7 separate regions of the Homo sapiens genome follow, and all the other regions are linked to region 1. Evidence: promoter capture Hi-C in 16 types of primary human blood cells and fetal thymus (Javierre and others, 2016). All regions are on one chromosome and are shown on one strand. Each heading gives the region's core, a stretch centred on a gene start or on the middle of the fragment in contact. The rest is flanking DNA. Distances are from core to core; before and after follow the strand shown.

Region 1 (3,175 bases), core at 676-3,175:
TAGTTGGGGAACTAACCATGGAATTAAGAGCCTGCAAGAAGAGATAATATGTAAACAAATACAACACAAAGCTCTGGAGAGACAGAAAAATTGCTTATAGATTAACAGCATTAATCTTAGAACTCTTCCCAAAAGAGAAATGTAACACACTTATAAAGCAAAGGAAGGATACAGTTTGACAGAGGATGATTTGAAGCATAGGAATGAAAACCGTATGTTAACATGAGTTAGGGAAGAGGGACTGATTTGCTTGGAATAAAGCATTTGGATTGAAGAAGGGAGTCTGGAAGCTAAGATGAGAGAGCTCAGGTCTCAGCCTTCCTGCCATGCCCCCTCCAGGACCCCAGGCACCTTGTTGTTATATTGCTTCCTGTGGGTCTTCTTCCATAGCTCCCAGTGGGTGTCCAGTATCTCCTCAGGGTACAGAGCAAAGCTCACCACAGGTAGCAGCAGAACCTTGAGCCCCCACATCCTGCAGAAGAATGTAGTTAGGGAAAACTCTTCCATTTGGCAGGGAAACAGAGGAAAACTAGGCTTTATGAGGAAGAGAAAGGTAGACGGAAAAAGGGTGATAAAACAATGATAGTCAGGAGGGGCCTGTGTTTAGATAGGATGCTGGTACATCTGGTTCCAAGGACTTTGATCTAGGGGGATTTAGCCATTTCTCTCTTTCTCTCTCTCTCTCTCTCTCGGGAGATTTAGGCAACACACACTCTCTCTGTTTCTCTCTCTGTCTCTCTCTCTCTCACACACACACACACACACACACACACACACACACACACACACACGTACACAACCAGAAATGGGGGATAGAAACTGGACAATCAGAATGGGCTCAGTGCGTTTCCTCCAGGGTCCCTAGCAGGCTTGGAGACAGACAAATAGCAAGGTGGTAGTGGGGTTCAGAATACACAAAGGAGAGATTTCCGTCTAAGTTTTGCCTCCTGATCATTTCTTCGAGGCGTTCTTCTCTTTCGTGCCTAAATTCTGGTACTTTCCCAGATCTTGTCAGAAGAGGACAAGGGAAAATAGGACAATGTTTCCTGTTTTCTGAGACATTGTATATCTCCTCATTCTCCTTATGCATTTCTTCTTCCTTTTTCTCTCCCTTCCCTCCTTAGGCAGGAAACTGCCCTAATCTTAACCAGATGCTGCGGGCAAGGTTTTTTATTTTTCCCCTAACAACAAAAACCCACTGTGGCTGCCGCAAAGGACAAGAAGCCTCAGATCCAAGGTTTGTTAGAAGAATGTTCAGACTGAAAAGCAATGTTCTATGATGATGAAATTCACAGCTTTTCATAAGTTTACTCTAGTTAGCTTCACTCATTTCTTGCATTGGCTTTCTTAATTACAAATCCTCCATTTTAAGAACAATTTGCAGCCTGCAGCATGACATATGGCTTACACAATTGCTTATAGTCCATTTACATGTAATTTTGCAAACTGGCAAAATGTCCAGTAGGACATTTAAAAACTAGAGTGTTAAGGGCTTTGAGATGTCTCAGTGAACAGGAAGCACTGAGCTACTACCTCCCCATACCACTCTCCTCCTCCTCACTAAGGAGTTAACCGTTTTGATCCTTGTTGGCCAAAGTAGAAAACACTGCAGAAAGGCCACTCTTGAAGGATGGGGAAATGATTCCCTATATACTTTGCTTTTACTAACAATCATGTATGTATATATATAAATCATACAAGGAATTCTACAGATTTCCAGGCAGATTTTATTTAGCCAGGGAATGACCTAAGAAGTGCATCTCTGTTTTCATCTGCAGAGGCTAAAAGTTTATTGTGATCCTCAAGTCACTACATCCCTAATACTCAGAGAATTGACAGGAATGAAAAGCTAAAAGATCTAGGAAGTTGCAAACGTTACCTGCTGATGGAAATCTGTTGTCTGGCTTCGTTTCGGCAGCAAAGTGTGGGCACACCATCAGGGGTGCTAGATTTATTCCATCGGGATTGCGGAAGTCAGCTCCAGTGATCGGCTGGAAAATTTGGGTAAGAGGAGGAGGCGGGGATAGAAATGCTGAGAGAAGGAAGGGTAGGGAGGAGGGAAGGAGGCAGTGGATTTGCAGTGTTTCTGTGTGTATGCAGCATGTGTGCCAGGGTAGGGAATTACTAGCTATTTAGTCTCACAAGACTGTCTTTGGTGGCAAATAACAAGACCTCAATATCTATTGACTCAAATAGGAGCTTACTTTCTCTTTTGGTGAGTAAAAGGAAGGACACAGCCCTAGTCTCTCCCATCCTTCTTCTTCAATATCTTTATTTTAATATTGGGGGATTATATCTTTTCCTACCCCTTTCCTGTTAGGATTTACCTCTCCAACATTGAAACCTATTTTCATATTTGTGTCTGACTCTCACCTCTGGGATGCGGTAATGAACATAAAAGGCTATAAAAGAATAATGTAATGGAAGCCATAGGCTCCAGAATTCTTTGTATTTTTATAAGCTTGTTGGTTGCAAGTTGTCATTACTTCCAGGCAGAATAGTTTTCCCAGCCTAATGTGGTTTTGCTGAAGGAGGATATGCCCAGAAAGTCCAGATGAAACTGTCTTTAAAAGTAACCAAAAACAGCAGTCCTGGTTATTTATGACAGCACTTGAATCAATGCCGTAAGTTCTGATGGACTCACATGTGACTCTGTTGCTAAAACTCTCAGGTGGTGGGATGCCCGATAAACATCATCTGTCTCAATTAAAATCCCCAATCTAGGACAAGTCACATGAGCTTCTCCAAATGCTTCCCCAACATCCAAGCATGTGACAGATCATAAGAATCTAGCTGATTCCTCAAACCACACCCCAAACTTCATTTTCTTCCATAAACAGATGTGGGGAAGGAGAAAAAAAGGCTTCTTGGAATAGAAAGGATAATAAATGGGATCTGTAATAGACTCAGTTTCTAGCTGGATTCCATGCATAAACCCTCAAAAATACAGGCTTATGCCTCTGGATTTTAAGAGCTGCTAACAGGCTAGGCGCAGTGGTTCACGCCTGTAATCCCAGGCCTTTGGGAGGCCAAAGCATGTGGATCACCTAAGGTCAGGAGTTCGAGACTAGCCTGGCCAACATATAGTGAAACCCCATCTCTACTAAAAAAAAAAAACACAAAAATTAGCTGGGCATGGTGGCACACACCTGTAGTGCCAGCTACTTGGGAAGCT
Region 2 (3,626 bases), core at 617-3,116, 440 kb before region 1:
ACATGCACATTTGTCCAAACTCAAGGTATAACACCAAGAGCGAACCCTAATGTAAACTATGGGCTTTGGGTGATAATGTGTCAGTGTAGGTTTGTCAGTTGTAACAGATGTATCGTTCTGGTGCGTGACATTGATAATGGGGGAGGGTATTCATGTGTGGGGGCAGGTGGTATATGGAATTCCTTGTGCTTTCCACACAATTGCCGTGAATCTAAAACTGCTCTAAAAATAGTCTATAAAAAAGTGGGTCTTTGGCTAGAGTTACAGAAAAAAAAAAAATGTGGGGTCAGGACCAGGCATGGCGGCTCAAGCTTATAATCCCAGCACTTCGGGAGGCTGAAAGCAGGAGGACTGCTTGAGGCTAGGAGTTTGAGACCAGCCTGGGCAACATAGGGAGACTCCCCCTCTCAAAAAAATGTTGTTGTTGTTGTTTTGTTTTTTTAGCTAGGTGTGGTGGTGCAGGCCTGTAGTCCCAGCTACTTGTGCTGCTGAGGCAGGAGGACCACTTGAGTCTGGGGGATTGAGGCTGCTGTGCGATATGATAGTGCCACTGCACTCTAGCCTTGGCAGGGACAGAGCGAGACTGTATTTTAGAGCCTTTGCACTTGCTGTTCCTAATGCCAGCATGTTCCGCTCCCCGTCTCGCATATCTGCTTGGTTGCTTTTTTCTCAATGTTCAGATCGAGTTATTTCTTTCGAGAAGACTTCCTGGTTCACCATACCACCATTCTTATACTGGCGCGTGCGTGCCGTGCACACGTACACACACGCGCGCACACACACACACCCCTTTCTCCCTTACCCTGCTTCACCTTTTTACAGAATTTAATACTGTCTGAAATGTACTTGTTGGTGGTGTCCTGCCACTAAATCCCGGAGGGAACGGATTTTTGTCTGTTTTGCTCCCCATGATCTAAAACAGTACTTGGCACAAGAGGTTCAACAACTCGTTGAATTAATGAATAGTGGACATGAACTTGACAAAACAGGTTCCCTGCCTCAAGAGGCATGGCCGCAGTGAGGAGACGTTAAAAGAATTAAAACTGTATATGTTTAGTGGGAACACAGGAGCCTTTAAATTAGCTCAGAGGATTTACATAGATACCTGCGATAAAATGGTTCGTATAAGGTTCATATAATAGTTACGTAAGACTCTTGAAAACTGTAATGTATTATGCAATTTTAAGATTGTATCATAGCTGGCGAAAATGAGGTCACATCTTGCCATTCTTTTTTCGCCTCGAAAAATTTTATGAGGAAAATTTCCTTTCACTTCCTCATTTATTTCCTTTTCCTGTAACCTAAATGGTCAAGCGGCTGTGAATGTTATCTTCTATGGGCAGCAATAAATACGGTTTGGTGTCGGAGTCTGCGTAGTGAATGGCTCACTGGATCTGGCGCATGCGCATCTTTTGTGGTGCCGCAAGATGGCTGCCAGCCATTTTGTCGCGCGTTGCTCCTCCGAGGAGTTGGGGGCGATGGCTGCAGCCCCCTGAAGACTAACAGTGGTCTCAGTGGTGGGAATTTTCTGTCTCTGTTGTGTGAGCTGAACACACCCAAGAGAGCGGCCAAAAGCAGCAAAGGGCGGGGCAGGGGAACCCCCCCACCCGGCTAACCTTAGTTATACCAGCTCCCTCACCCATCCCTCCCAGTTTTTCCTTCCATCCCGTTACACGCTTATCTTCTGCGCAGGCGCAAAAATAATCGTAGCGCCTCCTGGGCCCTGGGGGCTTCAGAGCTCCTGCGCGCGCTTGTGGTTCTCCACTCCTGATTGGTCAGGTTGCCCCGCCATCACGCCTCCCTCTGCTTTCAAGGTTGAGAAGGAAGCAGGGGTAGGGGGGTGGGGCCAAGTGGCGCGTGCGCGATACTGTTGCTGCCCCTTTGCTGCTATTGCGTTGCAAAAAAAATCCTGACTAGGTAGCCTTGGACCTTTTCTGTGCTAGCGAGTCTAAAGGAAAGAAAGATTTCTGCAACTGAAGGGGCAGTCGGGTAGTATTACATTTAAGATATTAACGCCCGACCTGGCTCACAGGAGTGTGGGAACAGGGGCGGGGAAGGGCCTTAGCACTGAGAGCCGAAAAGTATAAAACGATTAGTTTCGGCGTCAGGCGTTTTGAAAGGCTTTGCAGGTCCTGTTTTCTGCGTAATTTTTCCGTGATTACTGACTGGTTTAAACACGACCCCTTGAACAATATTGATAAAACCTCCGAGACCCGCAGCCCCTCCTTGCAGCGTGTAGGAGCTGCCAGCGTGCCCAGCAGCTGGTGTTCCCGTCCGTACCTCCAGAAGAGCCCAGCGCGTGCACCATCCCCACCCCCTAGCTTCCCTCCCCACCTACGGCTTTCACGCACTCGCAGTGATTGTTTTGCCCGCTCCCGCCGCCGCCGCCGCCGCCGCCGCCAGAGGAGCAGCAGCGCTTGTGCAAACCGGGAAGATGGCGGCCGGCGGCGGCGGAGGCAGCAGTAAGGCCTCCTCCTCGTCGGCCTCTTCGGCAGGGGCTCTGGAGTCCTCGTTGGATCGAAAATTCCAGTCGGTAACCAACACCATGGAGTCCATTCAAGGCTTGTCGTCTTGGTGTATAGAGAACAAAAAACACCACAGTACTATCGTCTATCATTGGATGAAGTGGCTCCGGAGATGTGAGTGTTGGGGGTGACTAGGGAAGGGAAGACTGGGGAAATGGAAGGAAGTGTGGCCTGAAACGCTTGGGGTTTTCCCACGGAGCCGCAGCATTTGGTTGGGGTTGTTCACATTAAAGGTTTGACCCCAGTGGTCCCAAACCCAGACTCCATTCCTAGCCAGGATTGTCCTGAATTGCAGGAGACTCATTTCTTGGGTTTTTTAGCCATTGAATTGTTGTGACCTTGGGCCGTTGGGCCCAGATCCATGGAGATTTACGTATATTGTTTTTAATATTTCAGAGCCTTGTAAGGTGTATTGATTTTTCCGAACCTTCGCGGAAATTGTAGCGTCTGTTTATTTCTTACAGGCCTTGACGTGTTAATGATTTCTGGCTTTCCTGATGGTAGGCGAGCTGTGGTTTTAAGCAGTAGTAAATCCAGTGATGTTTAATGAGGAGTGCCTTGTCTGGATGAATGTATCTAAAACTTGTGATGTGTAGTAAGGAGAGCCTTACCTGGATGAATGTTAAGAAGCAGCATGAGCTCTACATAGATCTGAGGCACCACCGGGTTTTCCCTGTACCTGTGTTTGCTGCAATAAAATACAGGTTTCTTGGATACTGACCAGAAACAACTGCGATACAGTAGTCAGTATCATCGTTAATACCTTCAAATATAAAGCGTGTCCAGTTCCTCTTTTTTTTTGAGACGGAGTTTTGCTCTTGTCGCCCAGGCTGGAGTGCAGTGGCGCGATCTCGGCTCACTGCAACCTCCACCTCCCGGGTTCAAGCGATTCTCCTGTCTCAGCCTCGCGAGTAGTCGGGATTACAGGCGCCCGCCACCATGTCCGGCTAATTATTTGTATTTTTAGTAGAGACGGGGTTTCATCATTGTGGCCTGGCTGGTCTCGAACTCCCGACCTCAGGTGATCCACCTGCCTCGGCCTCCCAAAGTGCAGGGATTACAGACGTGAGCCCCCCGTGCCCGGCCCCGTTACTTTTTAAT
Region 3 (3,626 bases), core at 431-2,930, 370 kb before region 1:
TGAACCCTGGAGGTGGAGCTTGCAGTGAGCCAAGATCGCCACTGCACTCCAGCCTGGGCAACAGAGCAAGACTCCGTCTCAATTAAAAAAAAAGAAATACAGGGCTGGGCATGGTGGCTCACACCTGTAATCCCAGCACTTTGGGAGGCCAAGGCTAGTGGATGGATCACTTGAGGTCAGGAGTTCAAGACCAGCCTGGCCAACATGGTGAAACCCCGTCTCTACTAAAAATAAAAATTAGCCAGGCATGGTGGCACACGCCTGTAATACCAGCCACTCAGGAAGCCGAGGCAGGACAATTGCTTGAACCCAGGAGGCAGAGGTCGCAGTGAGCTGAGATCGCGCCATTGCACTCCAGCCTGGGCAACGAGCAAAACTCCGTCTCAAATAAAAAGAAAAAATACAGGCTGGGCACGGTGGCACACGCCTGTTATCCCAGCACTTTGGAAGTCCGAGATGGGAAGATCTCTAGAGCTCAGGAGTTTGAGATCAGCCTGGGCAACATTGCGAGACGTAGTCTCTATTATTAAAAAAAGAAAGAAAGACATTTTGTAAGGCTATAGTTGCCGCTAATAATGATTCCTTTTATGGATCTGGGCAAAGGAAATTGAAAACCTTCTGGAAAGGATTCACCATTCTAGATGGCATGAAGAACATTTGTGATTCATAGGGAGAGGTCAAAATATCAACATTAAGGCCAGGCATGGTGGCTTTTAACACCTGTAATCCCAACACTTTGGAGGCCAAGGCAGGCAGATCACGAGGTCAAGAGATCGAGACCATCCTGGCCAACATGGTGAAACCTTGTCTCTACTAAAAATACAAATATTAGCTGGGTGTGGTGGTGCATGCCTGCAGTCCCAGCTACCATGATCAGTCATCATCAAGGCAAGACCCTCCACCAGCAAAAAGAATATGATTTGCTGGAGACTCAGATGATTGTTAAGAGTTTTTTAGCTATAAAGTATTTTTTTAACTAACATATGGATATTGTTTTTAATACATAATGCTATTGCACACTTAATTGACTATAGTATAGTGTAAATGTAACTTTTTAAAAATTTATTGGTTTGTTTTTAGAGACAGAGTCTTACTCTGTCACTCAAGCTGGAGTGCAGTGGTGTTGTCAGGGCTCACTGCAGACTCGAACCCCTGGTCTCAACCGATTCCCCCACCTCAGCCCTCCAAGTGGCTGGGACTACAGGTGTGCCCCACCACATCTGGCAAGTTTTTGTATTTTTTGCAGAGATGGGGTTTCGCCACGTTGCCCAGGCTGGTCTCAAACTCCTGGGCTCAGGTGATCCGCCAGCTTCAGCCTTCCAAAGTGCTAGAACTGCAGGCGTGAGCCACCGTGCCCAGCCTAAACTTTACAATTTTCTAGAGGTTTATTAACCAGAAAGAACAGACTCTGTTGTCACTTCTTATATTTTTTATGCTGAGATTCTTTCTGTCATTATTTAAAAAAAAAAAAAAAAAAAAGTTGAGCCAGGAACCGTGGCTCACGCCTGTAACCCCAGCACTTTGGGAGGCCGAGGCAGGCAGATCATGAGGTCAGGAGTTTGAGACCAGCCTGGCCAATACGGTGAAACCCCATCTCAACTAAAAAAATATATATACAAAAATTAGCCGGGCATGGTGTCACTGGCCTGTAGTCCCAGCCACTTGGGAAGCTGAGGCAGAAGAATCGCTTGAACTTGGGAGGCGGAGGTTGCAGTGAGCGGAGGTGGTGCCACTGCACTCCGGCCTGGGCGACAGAGCAAGACTCATCTCAAGAAAAGAAAAGAAAAAAAGTCATGCGTTGCTTAACATCAAGAATATGTTCTGAGGCCAGGTGCGGTGGCTCACACCTGTAATCCCAGCACTTTGGGAGGCCAAGGCGGGCAGATCACTTGAGGTCGGGAGTTCAAGACCAGCCTAACCAACATGGTGAAACCCCGTCCCTACTAAAAAAAAATACAAAATTAGCTGGGCGTGGTGGCAGGCGCCTATAATCCCAGCTACCCCGGAGGCGGAGGCAGGAAAATCGTTTGAACCCAGGAGGCGGAAGTTGCAGTGAGCCGAGATCGCACCATTGCACTCCAGCCTGGGTGACAGAGCAAGACTCTGTCTTCAAAAAAAAAAGAGTATGTTCTGAAAAATGTGTCATTAGGGAATTTTATCCTTTGAACATCCTAGAGTGTACTTAAATAAACGTAGATGGCATAGCCTACTAAAAACCGAAGCTATGTTGTGTAGCCTATTGCTCTTTGGCTGTAAACCTGCACTGCATGTCACTGTATTGAATACTATAGGCAGCTGTAACAATGGTAAGTACATATCTAAACTTTTTTTTTTTTAAACGGAGTCTCACTCTGTCTCCAGGCTGGAGTGCAATGGCGCAATCTCAGCTCACTGCAACCTTCGACTCCTTGGTTCAAGCAATTCTCCTGCCTCAGCGTCCCGAGTAGCTGGGATTACAGGCATGTGCCACCGCACCCAGCTAATTTTTGTATTTTTAGTAGAGACGGGGTTTCACCATGTTGGCCAGGATGGTCTCGATCTCTTGACCTTGTGATCCGCCTCCCTCGGCCTCCCAAAGTGCTGCGATTACAGGCATGAGCCACCACACCCGGCCGTATCTAAACATTATAGAACACAGAAAATTGTGAAAAGTATAAAGAAAAATCCACTCACTTTCACCAAATGGAGATTTACAAGATAACAATTTCAGCATTACTATCTTACAGTCTTTTTCTTCTATAAATGTTAGTATTGTATTTGAAACCAGTCACACACATAGTCAGGCATACCTTAGAGATATTGAGATTTCAGTTCCAAACCACCACAATAAAGCAAATATTGCAATAAAGCATGTCACACGCAGGTGGATCGCTTGAGCCCAGGAGGCTGAGGCTGCGGCTGCAGTGAGCCAAGATCATGCCACCATAGTTCAGCCTCGACAACTGAGTGAGACCCTGTCTCAAAAAAAAAGAAAATTGTAAGGTTTAATACAATTTTCTCTGTTTCTTACATAAGCCATTCTTAGGCAAGAAAAAAATTCTTTGTGAACACATGATGTTATGGATTCATAGGCTCTCATCCTTGAAAGAGGCCTTAAGTTTGACATAGCTTTTTTTTTTTTTTGTCTTCAATCTCCATATGGTTTGGTGGATTCACTTAAGGAGAGGTTACATTCCTGTTTTGTCTTTTGATAGATCTATGAAATTATTAGAATGGTTTCTGTTCTTTGGCAGATCTGCTAGAATAAAATTTCTTTTCTCTACGGCTTCATACTTTTGTCCTTGTTTTGCTTCCTGAGATCACACCAGTTTGATTCCTCTCCCTGACAATGGTTACGCCCTTCCTGCATTGTTTTTTATTTCTTCTGCATTTCACGTAAGACATAATTAAAATCTTTACTTAAATTATTAACTTTATTGGTAATTATTTCTCATTCACTTCTACTTTAACACTTTTTTTTTTTGAGACAAGGTCTTGCTCTGTGGCCCAGGCTGGGTTGCAGTGTTGTGATCACCAGTCAGTACAGTACAGATCCTCTTGCCTCAGACTCCCATGTAGCGGGTACTACAAATGTGTGCCACCACATGTGGCTAATTTTTTCATTTTTAGTAGAGATAAGGTCTCTC
Region 4 (3,626 bases), core at 566-3,065, 350 kb before region 1:
TTAATTTGGCTGCTAGAAAATTTAAACTTACATATGTGGCATATGTGGCTTAAATTGTATTCATGTTAAATAGCACTGTTTTGGGATGAGGGGTCACTTATACTGGAATTCCTTATTCTCTGTCACTTTTGACCATCAAGAATTCCAAAGTCAGTTTGTTAATCACACTTTCAGAAATAACCTGATTTGGTGAATTGTTTCTCTTATATCCCCAGCCTTCATAAATCTTATTAGATAGTTTGACTCCTGTTGAATTCAATGCACTATTGATACAGCCCTTAAAGCATTAAAAATAATTATTCAAGGTGATTGAGAGTTAAAACATTGTAGTTTCAAATTAGCTAGTGCCTGATTGCACCCCCCAATAGGGCAATTTCAGGAAGCCAGAGGAAAATACAATGAACACTATAGAGGTTCTGTTTCTAAGAACAGAAGTTCTTAGAAAGTTCTCAGGTTAATGGAAAAGAAAAACACAGGACAATTTATGAAAAATATCATTTCCAAAAGACAGAACACAAATGTGTACCAAATAATAACATGCTTCTTGAATTGTACAGATTTAATACACAAATACTAAGAAAATGCAAAGGAATCATTGAAAAGTAAGATACAAGATAAATTCTGGAAATTGCTTGCTTTTTTTTTTTTTTTTGAGACGGGAGTCTCGCTTTGTTGCCCAGGCTGGAATGCAGTGGCACAATCTCGGCTCATTGCAACCTCTGCCTCCTGGGTTCAAGCGATTCTCGTGTCTCAGCCTCTGTAGTAGCTGGGATTATAGACGCCTGCCACCACACCTAGCTAATTTTTTGTATTTTTTGTGGAGGCAGGATTTCACCATGTTGACCAGGCTGGTCTCGAAATCCTGACCTCACATGAGCCATTGTCCCCAGCTGGAAATTGCTTTTAAGCAGATATTAAAGGTGGGAATTATCATAAATTATGAAGAGTATGACTTTTTCAAAAAAGCATGAAGTGAGTCGTTGTTTTCTCTAAAGTAGTGCCTTTTCCCCCAAGTCCGGAAATATTAGGACATGTTATTTCATATAGGAAGCAAAGTCTGGAAAGTAGTAGGATGTAATATCTCTTTTCTTTGTTGAAACAGTCGAGGACAGGAAGGAAAAACCTGCAGAGAAGTCAGCTGTATCCACTTCTGTACCTACAAAGCCAACAGAAAATATCTCAAAGGCCTCTTCATGTACCCCAGTGCCTGTGACCATGACAGCAACTCCACCTCTTCCAAAGCCTGTGAATACTTCTCTTTCCCCTTCCCCAGCATTGGCTTTGCCAAACCTGGCTAATGTGGATCTGGCAAAGATCAGTTCCATCCTTAGCAGTTTAACATCAGTCATGAAAAATACTGGTAAGTAAGCCCAGTAAGGAGGATAAAAAGTTAATTTCCATCTTTTTAAATTGAATCATTAATCTGTTTTTGGGGGGGTTGTTGTTGTTGTTGTTGTTGTTGTTTAGACAGAGTTTCGCTCTGTCTCCCAGGCAGGAGTGCAGTGGTGCAATCTTGGCTCACTGCAACCTCTGCCTCCCGGGTTCAAGTGTTCTGCTGCTTCAGCCTCCCAAGTAGCTGGGATTACAGGCACCTGCTACCACGCCCGGCTAATTTTTGTATTTTTAGTAGAGATGGGGTTTCACCATGTTGGCCAGGCTGGTCTTGAACTTCTGACCTCAGGTGATACACCCACCTCGGCCTCCCAAAGTGCTGGGATTATAGGCGTGAGTCACCGTGCCCAGTCTGTTGTTGATTTTTTTTAATTAATGATTTTTTTTTTTTTTTCTGAGACGGAGTTTCAGTCATGTTACCTAGGCTGGAGTGCAATGGTGCAAACTTCACTCACTGCAGCCTCCATCTCCCAGGTTCAAGCAATTCTGCCTTAGCCTCCCAAATAGCTGGGACTACAGGCATGTGCCACCATGCCCAGCTAATTTTGTATTTTTGGTAGAGACGGGGTTTCACCATGTTGGTCAGGCTGGTCTCAAACTCCTGACCTCAGGTGATCCACCCATCTTGGCCTCCCAAAGTGCTGGGATTACAGGCGTGAGCCAGCGCACCCAGCTAAATTAATTGTTAAATTAAAAAATAATCCAATAATCGGTCATTATAGAAAAATTAGAAAATAAGCAAAGAGAATGAAATAAATATCTAGGCCAGGCGTGGTGGCTCATGCCTGTAATCCCAGCACTTTGGGAGGCTGAGATGGTAGATTGCCTGAGGCCAGGAGTTCGAGACCAGCCTTGGCAATATAGTGAGACCCTATCTCTAAATAAAAAATTTTAAATGAAAAAAATTTTTTAATAAATATCTATAATCCTGTTACCCCAAAGGAAACCACTTGTGTTTACCCTTAAAAGTATATGTGTATATGAATGTTTTGGAGAATTAAATATGTATAACAATTTTTAAAAAAGTAAGTGTATTGCATATACTGTTTCAAAACTAGCTATTTAAAAGTTAATTACATATCTTGAATGTTTTTATGAATCATTAAATATTTCTCTACATCATTTTTAATAGCTGCATAGCATGTGGTAACTTATCTAATCCTTTATTATTAGGCACTTAGTATGTTTCCAGTTTTTTACTGTTATGAAGAATACTATAGGGCCAGGTGTGGTGGCTCACGCCACCACTTTGGGAGGTGGAGGCAGGTTGATCACTTGAGGCCAGGAGTTGGAGACAAACCTGGACAACATGGCGAAACCCCATCTCTACTTAAAAAAACAAAAATTATGGCCGAGCGTGGTGGCTCACACCTGTAATCCCAGCACTTTGGGAGGCCGAGGCGGGTGGATCACGAGGTCAAGAGATCGAGACCATCCTGGCCAACATGGTAAAACCCCGTCTCTACTAAAAATACAAAAAAATAGCCAGGCATGGTGGCGGGCGCCTGTAGTCCCAGCTGCTCGGGAGGCTAAGGCAGGAGAATGGCCTGAACCCAGGAGGCGGAGCTTGCAGTGAGCCAGGATCGCGCCACTGCACAGCCTGGGCGACAGAGCAATACTCCGTCTCAAAAAAAAACAAAAAACAAAAATTAGGCCAGGTTTGGTGGCTCACGCCTGTATTTCCAGCACTTTGGGAGGCCAAGGCAGGCGGATCACCTGAAGTCAGGAGTTCAAGACCAGCCTGGCCAACTTGGTGAAACCCTGTCTACTAAAAATACAAAAATTAGCTGGGCATGGTGGCATGCATCTGTAGTCCCAGCTACTTGGGAGGCTGAGGCAGGACAATCACTTGAACCTGGGAGGCGGGGGTTGCAGTGAGCCAAGATCACGCCACTGCACTTCAGCCTGGGCAACAGAGCAAGACTCCGTCTCAAAAAAAGAAAAAATTCGCCAGCTGTGGTGGCACGTACCTGTAATCCCAGCTACTCATAAGGCTGAGGCATAAGTATCATTTGAACCCAGAAGGCAGAGGTTGCAGTGATCCAGGATCAAGCCACTGCACTCCAGCCTGGTTGACAGAGCGAGACTCTTGTCTCAAAAAAAAACAAAAAACAAAAAAAAAACCTGTAAATTATAAAAATTTTATGAATAACCCTTTGCAAGGGTTAAGTATATAAAACCTTTTTAATGGAATTTTATTTTTATTTATTTATTTATTTATTTTGAGACAGTCT
Region 5 (3,626 bases), core at 626-3,125, 330 kb before region 1:
CAAAGTGCTGGGATTACAGGCATGAGCCACCATGCCCAGCCCTTTTATTTTATTTTTAGAGACGGGGGCCTCACTCTGTTGTACATGCTGGAGTGCAGTGTCATAATCATAGCTCACTGTAACCCAACTCCTGGGCTGAAGCAACTCTCACCTCAGCCTCCTGAGTAGCTGGGACTACAGGCATGCACCACCATGCCCAGCTAATTTTTTTTATTTTTGTAGAGATGGGATCTCACTATGTTATCCAGGCTGGTCTTGAATTCCTGGGTTCAAACGGTCCTCTGCCTTGGCTTCCCAAAGTGCTGGGATTATAGGTGTGGGGCACCATGCCCAGCCTATGATGGCATTTTAAAGCAAAGTTAAAGATTGGCCCCATCCCAGATCTTCCACTTACATTACTAGGGAATTATTTTTTAAAAAATAAACCTAACTTCCCTACCACTTGTGCCTTTAGCCACTTGGCTACTTCTCTGGGCCCCAAAGGTTTTTGTTAGCAATGACATAATCCTTTCTTTTCTTTCTTTTTTTTTTTCTTTTTTTTTTTTTTTTTTTGAGACGGAGTCTTGTTCTGTCTCCCAGGTTGGAGTGCAGTGGCATGATCTTAATTCCTTGCAACCTCCACCTCCCAGGTTCAAGCGATTCTCCCGCCTCAGCCTCCCGAATAGCTGGGACTACAAGCGTGCACCACCATGCCCAACTAATTTTTTGTGTTTTTAGTAGAGATGGGTTTCACCATGTTGGCCAGGCTGGTCTTGAACTCCTGACCTCAAGTGATCTGCTCACCTCACCCTCCCAAAGTGCTGGGATTACGGGTATGAGCCACCACACCCGGCCTCATAATCCTTTCTTTATATATTTTACCTTATTCCTTTTTTTTTAACCTCTAATATCTTTTTTTTTTCCTTTGAGACGGATTCTTGTTTGGTTGCCCAGGCTGGAGTGCAGTGACACGATCTCGGCTCACTGCAATCTCTGCCTCTGGGGTTCAAGTGATTCTCCCACCTCAGCCTCCCAAGTAGCTAGGACTACAGGCATGCGCCACCACGCCAGGCTTTTTTTTTTTTTTTTTTTTTTTTTTTTTTGAGACAGAGTCTCTCTCTGTCACCCAGGCTGGAGTGCGGTGGCGCAATCTCGGCTCACTGCAAGCTCCGCCTCCCGGGTTCACGCCATTCTCCTGCCTCAGCCTCCCAAGTAGCTGGGATTACAGGCATGTGCCACCACACCTGGCTAATTGTGTATTTTTGGTAGAGACGGGGTGTCTCCATGTTGGTCAGGCTGGTCTCGAACTCCCGACCTCAGGTGATCTGCCCGCCTCAGCCTTCCAAAGTGCTGGGATTACAGGCGTGAGCCACCGCGCCTGGCTAATTTTTGTATTTTTAGTAAAGACGGGCTTTCACTATGTTGGCCACGCTGATCTCAAACTCCTGACCTCAGATCCACCTGCCTCAGCCTCCCAAATGCTGAGATTACAGGCGTGAGCCACTGCATCCAGCCTTCTCTTTTTTTTTTTTTTTTTTTTTTGAGACGGAGTCTTGCTGTGTTGCCCAGGCTGGAGTGCAGTGGTGCGATCTCGGCTCACTGCAAGCTCCGCCTCCCGGGTTCACGCCATTCTCCTGCCTCAGCTCCCGAGTAGGTGGGACTACAGGCGCACGCTGCCACGCCCGGCTAATTTTTTGTATTTTTAGTAGAGACGGGGTTTCACCATGTTAGCCAGGGTGGTCTCGATCTCCTGACCTCGTGATCCACCCGCCTCGGCCTCCCAAAGTGCTGGGATTACAGGCATGAGCCACTGTGCCCGGCCTCTGCCTTCTCTTTTTTTTTTTTTTTTTTTTTTTTTTTTGAGACAGGGTATCATTCTGTTGCCCAGGTTGCAGTACAGTGGTGCAATCACGCCTCACTGCACTGGATCTCCTGGGCTCAAGCAATCTTCCCACCTTAGCCTCCCAAGGCACATACCACCATGCCCAGCTAATTTTTTATTTTTTGTAGAGATGGGGGTCTCACTATGTTGTCCAGGCTGTTGTCGAACTCCTGGACTCAAGCAATCCGCCTGCCTCAGCCTCCAGTGTTGGGATTACAGGCGTGAGCCACCACACCCAGCCAAATATACTTTCTACATCTTTAGTGCTTCTAAGAAGTAAGATAGATTTGGAGGTATGTGCTGATCCTGAGGACAAGTGGAAAATATTTACATGTAGTTTAAAGTTACATGTAGTTTAAAGCTATAAAAACAATACCTTCTGAACTAGGACTCTAGTCACCTTGGAATTTCTATTCCAAAAGTGGAGTTAAGCTGAGAATTTCCTAAAATTTTACTAAGGGCCTAGGACACCCTTCACTGTGGATTCCCTTTTTCCTGCACTTCTGTGGAAATCTAGCTTTATTTTGTGCACACTTTTTTCCTTAACCTTAATCTGGTAGAGAAAAGTCGGAAGACGCCTCTTTTCTTGGCTTTCTATTGGACCCACCTCTTTTACCCTATATCAAAGGCCTATTTGGCCACAAGTATCAGAATCTTATAACCTGACACATTATGACCAATCTGGTCCCTGAGAGGCAGTATGGCATAGCATAAACAACAAGGGCTTTGCATTCAGATAGACTGGGGGCTTTACTTCTTTGAGAATCATTTTCCTGTTTTAAAGGGAGTATACTTGACATAGTTGTTTTAGGAATTAGGTGAAATAGTGAAGGCATAGCACCGGGTGTTCAGTAGTAGTCTAGGGTGGAGGGGCAACAGCCCAAGTTTTAAGAATAGATGTTTCAAGCCAGGCATGGTGGCTCACGCCTGTAAACGCAGCACTTTGGGAGGCCAAGGCAGGTGGATCACCTGAGGTCAGGAGTTCAAGACCAGCCTGGCCAACATTGTGAAACCCCATCTCTACTAAAAATACAAAAAAATAGCCAGGTGTGGTGGCGGGCACCTGTAATCCCAGCTACTCGGGAGGCTGAGGCAGGAGAATCGATTGAATCTGGGAGTCGGAGGTTGCAGTGAGCCAAGATCGTGCCATTGCACTCCAGCCTGAGCAACAAGAGTGAAACTCCATCTCAAAAAACAAAAAACAGGCCGGGCACAGTGGCTCACGCCTGTAATCTCAGCACTTTGGGAGGCCAAGGTGGTCGGATCACGAGGTCAGGAGTTCGAGACCAGCCTGACATGGTGAAACCCTGTCTCTACTAAAAATACAAAAATTAGCCGAGCGTGGTGGCGCGCACCTGTAATCCCAGCTACTCAGGAGGCTGAGGCAGAAGAATCACTTGAACCCGGGAGGCAGAGGTTGCAGTGAGCCAAGATAGCGCCACTGCACTCCAGCCTCGGCGACAGAGCAAGACTCTGACTCAAAAAAAATTAGCTGGGTGTGGTGGCGTACACCTGTAATCCCAGCTACTGGGGAAGCTGAGGCAGGAGGATCACTTGAACCCAGGAGGCGGAGGTTGCAGTGAGCCAAGATCATGCCACTGCACTCCAGCCGGGCAACAGAGCAAGACTTCACCTCAAAAAAAAAAAAAAAAAAAAAAAAAAGAATAGATGTTTCCTAGGCTGACTAATGGATTAAAATTCCCCAATACTGAGGCATATGCTAGTCACAAGTCCGAAGTTGTAGAAGAACCAGTAACTCATGAAT
Region 6 (3,626 bases), core at 754-3,253, 310 kb before region 1:
ATGGGGGTTGGGGCCGGGCACAGTGGCTCACATCTATAATCCTAGCACTTTCGGAGGCTGAGCCGTGCAGATCACCTGAGGTCAGGAGTTCGAGACCAGCCTGGCCAACATGGCAAAACCCTGTCTCTACTAAAATAAATACAAAAAATTAGCCAGTGTGGTGGCAGCGCCTGTAGTCCCAGCTACTGGGGAGGCTGAGGCAGGAGAATCCCTTGAACCCAGGAAGGGGAGGTTGCAGTGAACTGAGATTGAGCCACTGCACTCCAGCCTGTGTGATACAGTGAGACTCCGTCTTGAAGAGAAAAAAAAAGGTGGGGGGGCTGGTTTGGAATCATAAACATAAATATTGAAAGTGCTGGTGACCTTTAATACTACAATTGTGTGGTCTGCAGTCGGGGAGCATAGAGATGGGACCTGGTATTTAATAGGTTGTGGTTGCAATCAGCATGGCCTGAGGGCCCAGGAAGATCACACAGCTGACACCCTACCTGCTTTCCTTCCAGTTACTCTGACCTTCCATGTCTGTACCCTCCTCTCCAGGCTGAGTATGCCCATCGTGGTTTCTCCGAGGTGAAAACTCCCACACTGTTTTCTACGAAGCTCTGGGAACAGTCAGGGCACTGGGAGCATTATCAGGAAGACATGTTTGCCGTGCAGCCCCCAGGCTCTGACAGGCCTCCCAGCTCCCAGAGTGACGATTCTACCAGGCATATCACAGATACACTCGCCCTCAAGCCTATGAACTGCCCTGCACACTGGTAAGCTGGGAGCTAGGGTTACAATCAGGTTGCTAAATATTAAATAATAGAAAGCACCTTGGGGCCGGGCACGGTGGCTCACGCCTGTAATCCCAACACTTTGGGAGGCCGAGGCGGGCGGATCACCTGAGGTCGGGAGTTTGAGACCAGCCTGACCAACATGGAGAAACCCTGTCTCTACTAAAAATACAAAAAATTAGCCGGGCACGGTGGCGGGCGCCTGTAGTCCCAGCTACTCAGGAGGCTGAGGCAGGCTAATGGCGTGAACCCAGGAGGTGGAGCTTGCAGTGAGCCGAGATCGCGCCACTGCACTCCAGCCTGGGTGACACAGCGAGACTCCATCTCAAAAAAAAAAAAAAAAAGAAAGCACCTTGGAAAGAGTATTGGGACACCGATTTGAGCCTACAGTCTTCCCCCTAGCTAACCATGTAAATTTGGGAAACTCATTTTACCTCTTTAGGTCTCAGTCTCCTTAAAGTTGCTATCTAAGGCTCCTCCTTCAGCTCAGTGACCATCACAGAACAGGGAAATGGTAAACGATGTCTGTTATTGTGTTACTGAGAAATCCACTTTTGAACCTCAGGGCTCAGACTGTGATGAGTGGGATTGACAGGACTCAGTGGGAGGATGTGCTGAGGCTGGAGAGGGTTATAGCAGATGGTGCAGAGAAAGTAGGCAAGCAGATTGGGTGGAGGAGCAGTCTTCGGGGGCTAGTCCTCCCTATGGCCCTGACCCCTCTGCACCCCAACCTCAGCCTGATGTTCGCCCACCGGCCCAGATCCTGGCGGGAACTGCCCCTGCGACTAGCTGACTTTGGGGCTCTACACCGGGCCGAAGCCTCTGGTGGTCTGGGGGGACTGACCCGACTGCGGTGCTTCCAGCAGGATGACGCTCACATCTTCTGTACAACAGATCAGGTGGCCTTTCCCTGGCTCCACCAAAGCTTTTCTAAACCACCTTTCTTTCTCCCTATGAACCTGCAAACCCCTGATCTTTATTTGCCCCCTGTATGTACTATAATTCAGCTACATTCTACCCCCAGCTTGCTTCCGCTTCCTCTCTGTTTTTGCCCTTTGTTTTCCTCAAACTGCCAGCATCCCTGATCTCTAGCGGGCTCACAGCTCACTGACCCTTATTTCCTGCCCCTAGCTGGAAGCAGAGATCCAAAGCTGTCTTGATTTCCTCCGTTCCGTCTATGCCGTTCTTGGCTTCTCCTTCCGCCTGGCACTGTCCACCCGGCCATCTGGCTTCCTGGGGGACCCTTGCCTTTGGGACCAGGCCGAACAGGTGAGTAGGAGGTAGAGAAATAGAGGCAGATAAACCACTCTCTGGTGGGAAGGAGTGGAGAATACAGTAATCAAGGTTCTCAGAGGCATCTGGTGAGTGGGTCATTTGTTGGGGACTGACCGGATGTGTTGCTTTTGAAGTCTAAGATGATGTATTCCACTCTTGTCTCATTCCTTCAAAGGTCCTTAAACAGGCCCTGAAGGAATTTGGAGAACCCTGGGACCTCAACTCTGGAGATGGTGCCTTCTATGGACCTAAGGTAAGCTTGGGACCCTGGTTAGTGTTGTATTTATTTATTTTTTGCTTTGTTTTAGTAAATATTTAATAGATACAAAGAATTTTTTTTTTTGAGACAGTCTCACTCTGTCACCCAGGCTAAAATGCAGTGGTGTGATCTCAGCTCACTGCAACCTCCAGCTCCCTGGTTCAAGCAATTCCCCTGCCTCAGCCTCCCGAGTAGCTGGGATTACAGGTGTACGCCACCACACCCGGCTAATTTTTTTGTATTTTTAATAGAGATGGGGTTTCGCCATGTTGGCCAGACTGGTCTCGAACTCCTGACCTCAGGCAATCCACCCCACTTGGCCTCCCAAAGTGCTGGGATTACAGGCGTGAGCCACCGCACCCGGCCACAAAGAAATATTTTTAAACTTACGTAGGATATAAAGAAAAACAATATACTTTCTGCCCTCTTGGCATCTGCAATCTAGTGAGGGCTGCTGAAGGTAAATAGGCCATATCAGTGCTGCGAGATCTGTGCTGTGTAGGTACCAAGAGAGCACGTTAGCTGGGGTTAGCATTACTCGGGGAGGTTACAAAAGGTGTCCTGCAGGAATCACTTTCCAATCTGAAAGGTGAGTGTTGGCCAAGTAAAGATGTGTTTCAGGAGGGAACAGTGTAGGCAGAGGCTGGGGATAAGGATGAAAACACATGGCAGACCAATCTGGGCAACACAGGGAGACCCTGTGTCTACCAAAAAAAAAAAAAAAAATTAGCCGGGTGCAGTAGCTTGTGCCTGTGGTCCCAGCTACCCAGCAGGCTGAGATGGGAGGATCACCTGGTCCCAGGAGGTAGAGGCTGCAGTGAGCCGAGATTGCGCCCCACTGCACTCCAGCCTGGGTGATAGAGTGAGACCCTGTCTCAAAAAAAAAGAAGCCAAGGGGAAAAAAGGACTGAAAAGTGTCCACTGGATTTAGTAAAAAGGCTGCTGGATTTCAAAGGACCATTTTCAGTAAAGTAGGGCCTGAGGGTGGAGTTAGAAGATGAATAAATGAGGCCTGTGTGGTGGCTCACGCCTGTAATCCCAGCACTTTGGGAGGCCGACGTGGGTGGATCACTTGAGGTCAGGAGTTCGAGACCAGCCTGGCCAACGTGGCGAAACCCCATCTCTACTAAAAATATAAAAATTGGCCGGGTGAGGTGTTAGGACACACCTGTAGTCCCAACTACTCAGTAGCCTGAGGCAGGAGAATCGCTGAACCTGGGAAGTTGCAGTGAGCCAAGATCACACCACTGCACCCTAGCCTGGGCAACAGAGCAAGACTCCGTCCCAAAAAGTAAAAATAAAACAGGCTGGGGGCG
Region 7 (3,626 bases), core at 443-2,942, 290 kb before region 1:
GAGGGCACTGGCGTTTTCAGACACACCACAGACAAACACACCCTCCTAAGCCTGCTTGTATTTCCTTCAGTGCCTGGCCCCTGAGGCCCACGGCCCTGCCCCCTTCACTGAGCAGATGTTCACAGGCTGTGGGATGCGACCATAACTAAACAGCTTGACGTCACTTTGCCATCTTGAATTTATTCACATATTTTGAAAGGAGTGCCACCTTGTTAGCTAGCTATCAGGACTCAAAGAAGATATGGTTCTTGGCCTTGGTGAGCCCCCAAAATGCCACAGCCCAGCCTAACATTTTTAAAGCTTCACTTTTGATCCTTAGAATTCATGCCTTCATTCATTCAATATCCTTTTTTTTTTTTTCTTGAGACACAGTCTCGCTCTATCGCCCAGGCTGAAGTGCAGTGGCACGATCTTGGCTCACTGCAACTTGCAACCCTCCTGGGTTCAAGCGATTCTCCTGCCTCAGCCTCCCGAGTAGCTGGGATTACAGGCGTGCACCAGCACACCCAGCTAATTTTTGTATTTTTAGTAGAGACGGGTTTTCACCATGTTGGCCAGGCTCCCAAAGTGCTGGGATTACAGGCGTGAGCCACTGTGCCTGGCCAATATCCATTTATTGAACCCCTATCTATGCACACTCTGCTAGACTTGGGGATACACATCCAGAACACACACAGCCCCTGCCCTGAGGTTGTTCACTGTCCCTGAGCCTAGCAGGTGTGACAAGTGTTGTGGTACAGGGCCCCCAGCGTGCTCTGAGCATGACAGGAACGTCCCGAGGTGGGAGTGGGGCTGGGGGCAGCACAGGTGCACAGGAGGGGCGTTGAGGTCAGAGTTTCTCCAGTAAAGAAGTAGAGGGTGTGAGCGGGCAGAGTGCGCACAAGGGTCAAGGCTGAAAGGACCTGACTCTTTGGTGGCCTTCCTCTCTGATATGGCTGGAATGATAAGCAGGAGCTCATCACTAATGCCTCACCCGCAGGGTTTTAAGTGGATCTTGGTGCCCTGGCCCAGGGGGCACTGGCGTTTTCAAGCGGAGGATGTGTTCCAATTTGCCTTTTAAGAATGTCTAGGCCGGACGCACTGGCTCACGCTGTAATCCCAGCATTTTGGAAGGCCGAGGCGGGCGGATCACTTGAGGTTAGGAGTTCGAGATCAGCCCGACCAACATGGTGAAACCCCATCTTTACTGAATTAGCCAGGCGTGGTGGTGCCCACCTATAATCCAAACTACTCGGGAGGCTGAGGCACGAGAATCACTTGAACCTGGGAGGTGGAGGTTGCAGTGAGCCAGTATCGCACCACTGCACTCAGCCTGGCCGACACAGCGAGACTGTGCCTCAAAAATAAAATAAAATAAAATAATGTCTAGTCGGAGAGCCGGGGAGGTGGCGCGCGCCTGTAATCCCAGCCACCCAAAGAGCTATGGTCTCGGCACTGCACTTCAACCTGCGAGACCCAGTCTCAAAAAGAAAAAAAAAAGTTTAGTCGGCAGCCAGCAAGGCGGGACGCTGGGAGGCCAGTTCAAAGAGTGTCGTCCCAAGTGCCGGAGGGACGGAGCTGTAGCCCCCAACCTGAGCTGGACCCGAGGGTGGCGGTGACTAGGACTCTCAAGCCCTACAAAGCTGCTCCCAGGAACCCGAGGCCTCAAGGCTGGATCTGAAAGAATCGGAATGAAGACTCGGAATGAAGAGTCCCAGGGGAACAAGTCCTGTGTGACTCCGCCGCCAGGACGACCTTCCAGAAAGCAGACTTCTCCGCTCCAGTTCTAGCGGAGACGGAGAGAGTGAACCAAGAACCATCATCCTGCGCCAGCCAGGGGCAAGCGGAGCCTCAGTTGCTCCCAAACCCACGCCCGCCTCTCCTTCCTCTCCTCCTCCACAGGCTTTCATTTATTTACTTAAGTATTTTTAGCCCAGTAGCAGTTTCCAGTCCAGCGGCTCCTCAGATCTTTCGCCGGCTGTCCGCCCCACCTGTCCGTCAGCACGCGAGCCAATGAGCGGGCGAGGGCAGCGCTGTGCCCCGCCCCTGAGCCGGCAGCCCAGTCTCGGGAGCCCGGGGCCGCCTGGGCCTCCTGCCCGCCGCGCTCGAGTCTGGAGCTCGAGAGTGACACTGCGCATGTGCGGGCGTCCTGCGCATCTCCTACGGCCTCCAGGACAGAGGAACCGGGGGAGGCAGGGGGAAAAGGCCGGCCCAGCAATTCCCCTACCCCCCGGTCCCACGTGTACCCTCCTGGCCTGGGTCGCCCCAGCCCACGGGGAGCGGGCGGAGTCCTGGCCCACGAAGCCTTGTCACCTGGCGGGCGAATCCGCAAGCGGAGACTTGTCTTTAAAGGGCTTTGGGCCGGGCGCGGTGGCTCATGCCTGGAATCCCAGCACTTTGGGAGGCCGAGGCGGTGGATCACGAGGTCAGGAGTTCAAGACCAGCCTGGCCAAGAAGGTGAAACCCCGTCTGTACTAAAAATACAAAAAAAAAAAAAAATTAGCAGGGCGTGGTGGCGGGCGCCTATAATCCCAGCTACTCGGGAGGCTGAGGCAGAGAATTGCTTGAACCCGGGAGGCGGAGGCTGCAGTAAGATCGCGCCACCGCACTCCAGCCTGGGCGAGAGAGGAGACTCTGTCTCAAAAAAAAAAAGGGAGCGGGGGGGCTTTGGTCTGTGCAGGAGCTTCCCGGAGATGCTTTAGAGCTGCGTTTGCAAAGTGCAGCGCCAAATGCTGCAGAGAGGTGGGAGTCAGAGGAGAGGAGGACTGCGGTCCCAAACCCTAGCAGTTTAGTCTGTCGGGGAGGAGAGGAAGGGAACCCGGAGAGCACTTGTAAGCTACAGTGCTGAATATGAGGAGGTACTGAATTGAGCATCAAATGCTGAGAGTTAAAGAATTCTCCCTAGGGACCAGCCAGCTATTATCTGGAAGCAGTGAGTTTGGATAGAGCCTGGAAGCACGGGTAGCATTGCTGTTAGCAATAAAAGGTGAACGTGTTAACATTCACTGCAATTCGTTGTATACACTATTAAAATATAACTTGCTCAATTCAGGGGCGGTGAGTAAAGTAAAGGAGTCAGAGCTCCTAATTATTGGAGAGGCCAGGGAAAGCTTCACAGAATTCAAGCTTGAGTAGGGTTTTGTTGAAAGGGAAGGATATACAAAGCATTGAATGTATGCAAAGTTCAGCTAAAGTAAACAGTCCTTTTTGTGTTAGGCAGAGTGCTAAAAGTACTCTGGCTATAACGAAGACTACAACACCACCTTCAGGGACTTTAGCGTCTGTGGAGACTTGAACATCTAATGTTAGAAATATTCTCAGAATTCTGAGACAGCCACCTAGCCTGGCCTTCAGGGAGATCTTCCAGGAAGAGGAAATAACACAGAAAGTGTGGTATATTTAAATATACCTAGCCAGGCGCGGTGGCTCACACCTGTAATCCCAGCACTTTGGGAGGTCGAGGCCAGTGGATCAACCGAGGTCAGGAGTTCGAGACCAGCCTGACCAACATGGTGAAAGCCGTCCCTACTAAAAATACAAAATTAGCCAGGCATGATGGCGCATGCCTCTAATCCCAGCTACTTGGGAGGCTGAGGCAGAAGAATTGCTTGAACCCAGGAGGCAGAGGTTGTAGTGAGCCAAGATTG

What was found. The method cuts DNA at HindIII sites, captures the fragments that hold promoters and counts their contacts. A CHiCAGO score of 5 or more calls a contact.
Region 2: a contact is called between the fragment with the promoter of RPRD2 here and the fragment with the promoter of CTSK in region 1, in 1 of 17 cell types (neutrophils). The highest score is 5.1, in neutrophils.
Region 3: a contact is called between a fragment that was not itself captured here and the fragment with the promoter of CTSK in region 1, in 2 of 17 cell types (total B cells and naive B cells). The highest score is 5.3, in total B cells.
Region 4: a fragment that was not itself captured here is called in contact with the fragment with the promoter of CTSK in region 1 in 1 of 17 cell types (neutrophils); the score reaches 5.3 in neutrophils.
Region 5: a contact is called between a fragment that was not itself captured here and the fragment with the promoter of CTSK in region 1, in 2 of 17 cell types (endothelial precursors and erythroblasts). The highest score is 5.5, in endothelial precursors.
Region 6: a fragment that was not itself captured here is called in contact with the fragment with the promoter of CTSK in region 1 in 4 of 17 cell types (erythroblasts, neutrophils, endothelial precursors and 1 more); the score reaches 6.6 in erythroblasts.
Region 7: a contact is called between a fragment that was not itself captured here and the fragment with the promoter of CTSK in region 1, in 2 of 17 cell types (neutrophils and endothelial precursors). The highest score is 5.6, in neutrophils.

What each region holds. Positions count from the first base shown.
Region 1 is chr1:150,806,335-150,809,509 of GRCh38, forward strand. It overlaps CTSK (cathepsin K), which reads right to left and starts at 1,926. Exons shown (of 8, transcript NM_000396.4): 1 at 1,880-1,926; 2 at 352-472. The coding sequence starts at 471. The HindIII fragment of the contact is 11,451 bases long and covers 1-2,459 here.
Region 2 is chr1:150,362,281-150,365,906 of GRCh38, forward strand. It overlaps RPRD2 (regulation of nuclear pre-mRNA domain containing 2), which reads left to right and starts at 1,867. Exons shown (of 11, transcript NM_015203.5): 1 at 1,867-2,639. The coding sequence starts at 2,435. RefSeq lists enhancers at 162-1,104, 1,085-1,154, 1,315-1,624, 2,375-2,654, 3,138-3,427. The HindIII fragment of the contact is 10,239 bases long and covers 310-3,626 here.
Region 3 is chr1:150,436,519-150,440,144 of GRCh38, forward strand. The region is part of intron 2 of RPRD2 (regulation of nuclear pre-mRNA domain containing 2); the gene reads left to right. Among named protein-coding and RNA genes, the nearest start is that of TARS2, 49 kb to the right of the region's middle. The HindIII fragment of the contact is 5,634 bases long and covers 1-3,626 here.
Region 4 is chr1:150,458,958-150,462,583 of GRCh38, forward strand. RPRD2 (regulation of nuclear pre-mRNA domain containing 2) reads left to right here. Exons shown (of 11, transcript NM_015203.5): 9 at 1,103-1,360. Among named protein-coding and RNA genes, the nearest start is that of TARS2, 27 kb to the right of the region's middle. The HindIII fragment of the contact is 5,293 bases long and covers 1-3,626 here.
Region 5 is chr1:150,480,991-150,484,616 of GRCh38, forward strand. It overlaps LOC124904416 (a long non-coding RNA gene), which reads left to right and starts at 3,521. Exons shown (of 2, transcript XR_007066600.1): 1 at 3,521-3,626. The HindIII fragment of the contact is 5,385 bases long and covers 1-3,626 here.
Region 6 is chr1:150,496,990-150,500,615 of GRCh38, forward strand. It overlaps TARS2 (threonyl-tRNA synthetase 2, mitochondrial), which reads left to right. Exons shown (of 18, transcript NM_025150.5): 10 at 541-758; 11 at 1,513-1,675; 12 at 1,908-2,045; 13 at 2,227-2,304. Among named protein-coding and RNA genes, the nearest start is that of MIR6878, 6.5 kb to the left of the region's middle. The HindIII fragment of the contact is 608 bases long and covers 1,700-2,307 here.
Region 7 is chr1:150,513,627-150,517,252 of GRCh38, forward strand. FALEC (focally amplified lncRNA regulator of ECM1) reads left to right here and starts at 2,126. Exons shown (of 6, transcript NR_186305.1): 1 at 2,126-2,436. ECM1 (extracellular matrix protein 1) reads left to right here. Exons shown (of 10, transcript NM_004425.4): 10 at 1-163. RefSeq lists enhancers at 1,571-1,640, 1,711-1,860 and a silencer at 1,951-2,320. The HindIII fragment of the contact is 2,789 bases long and covers 299-3,087 here.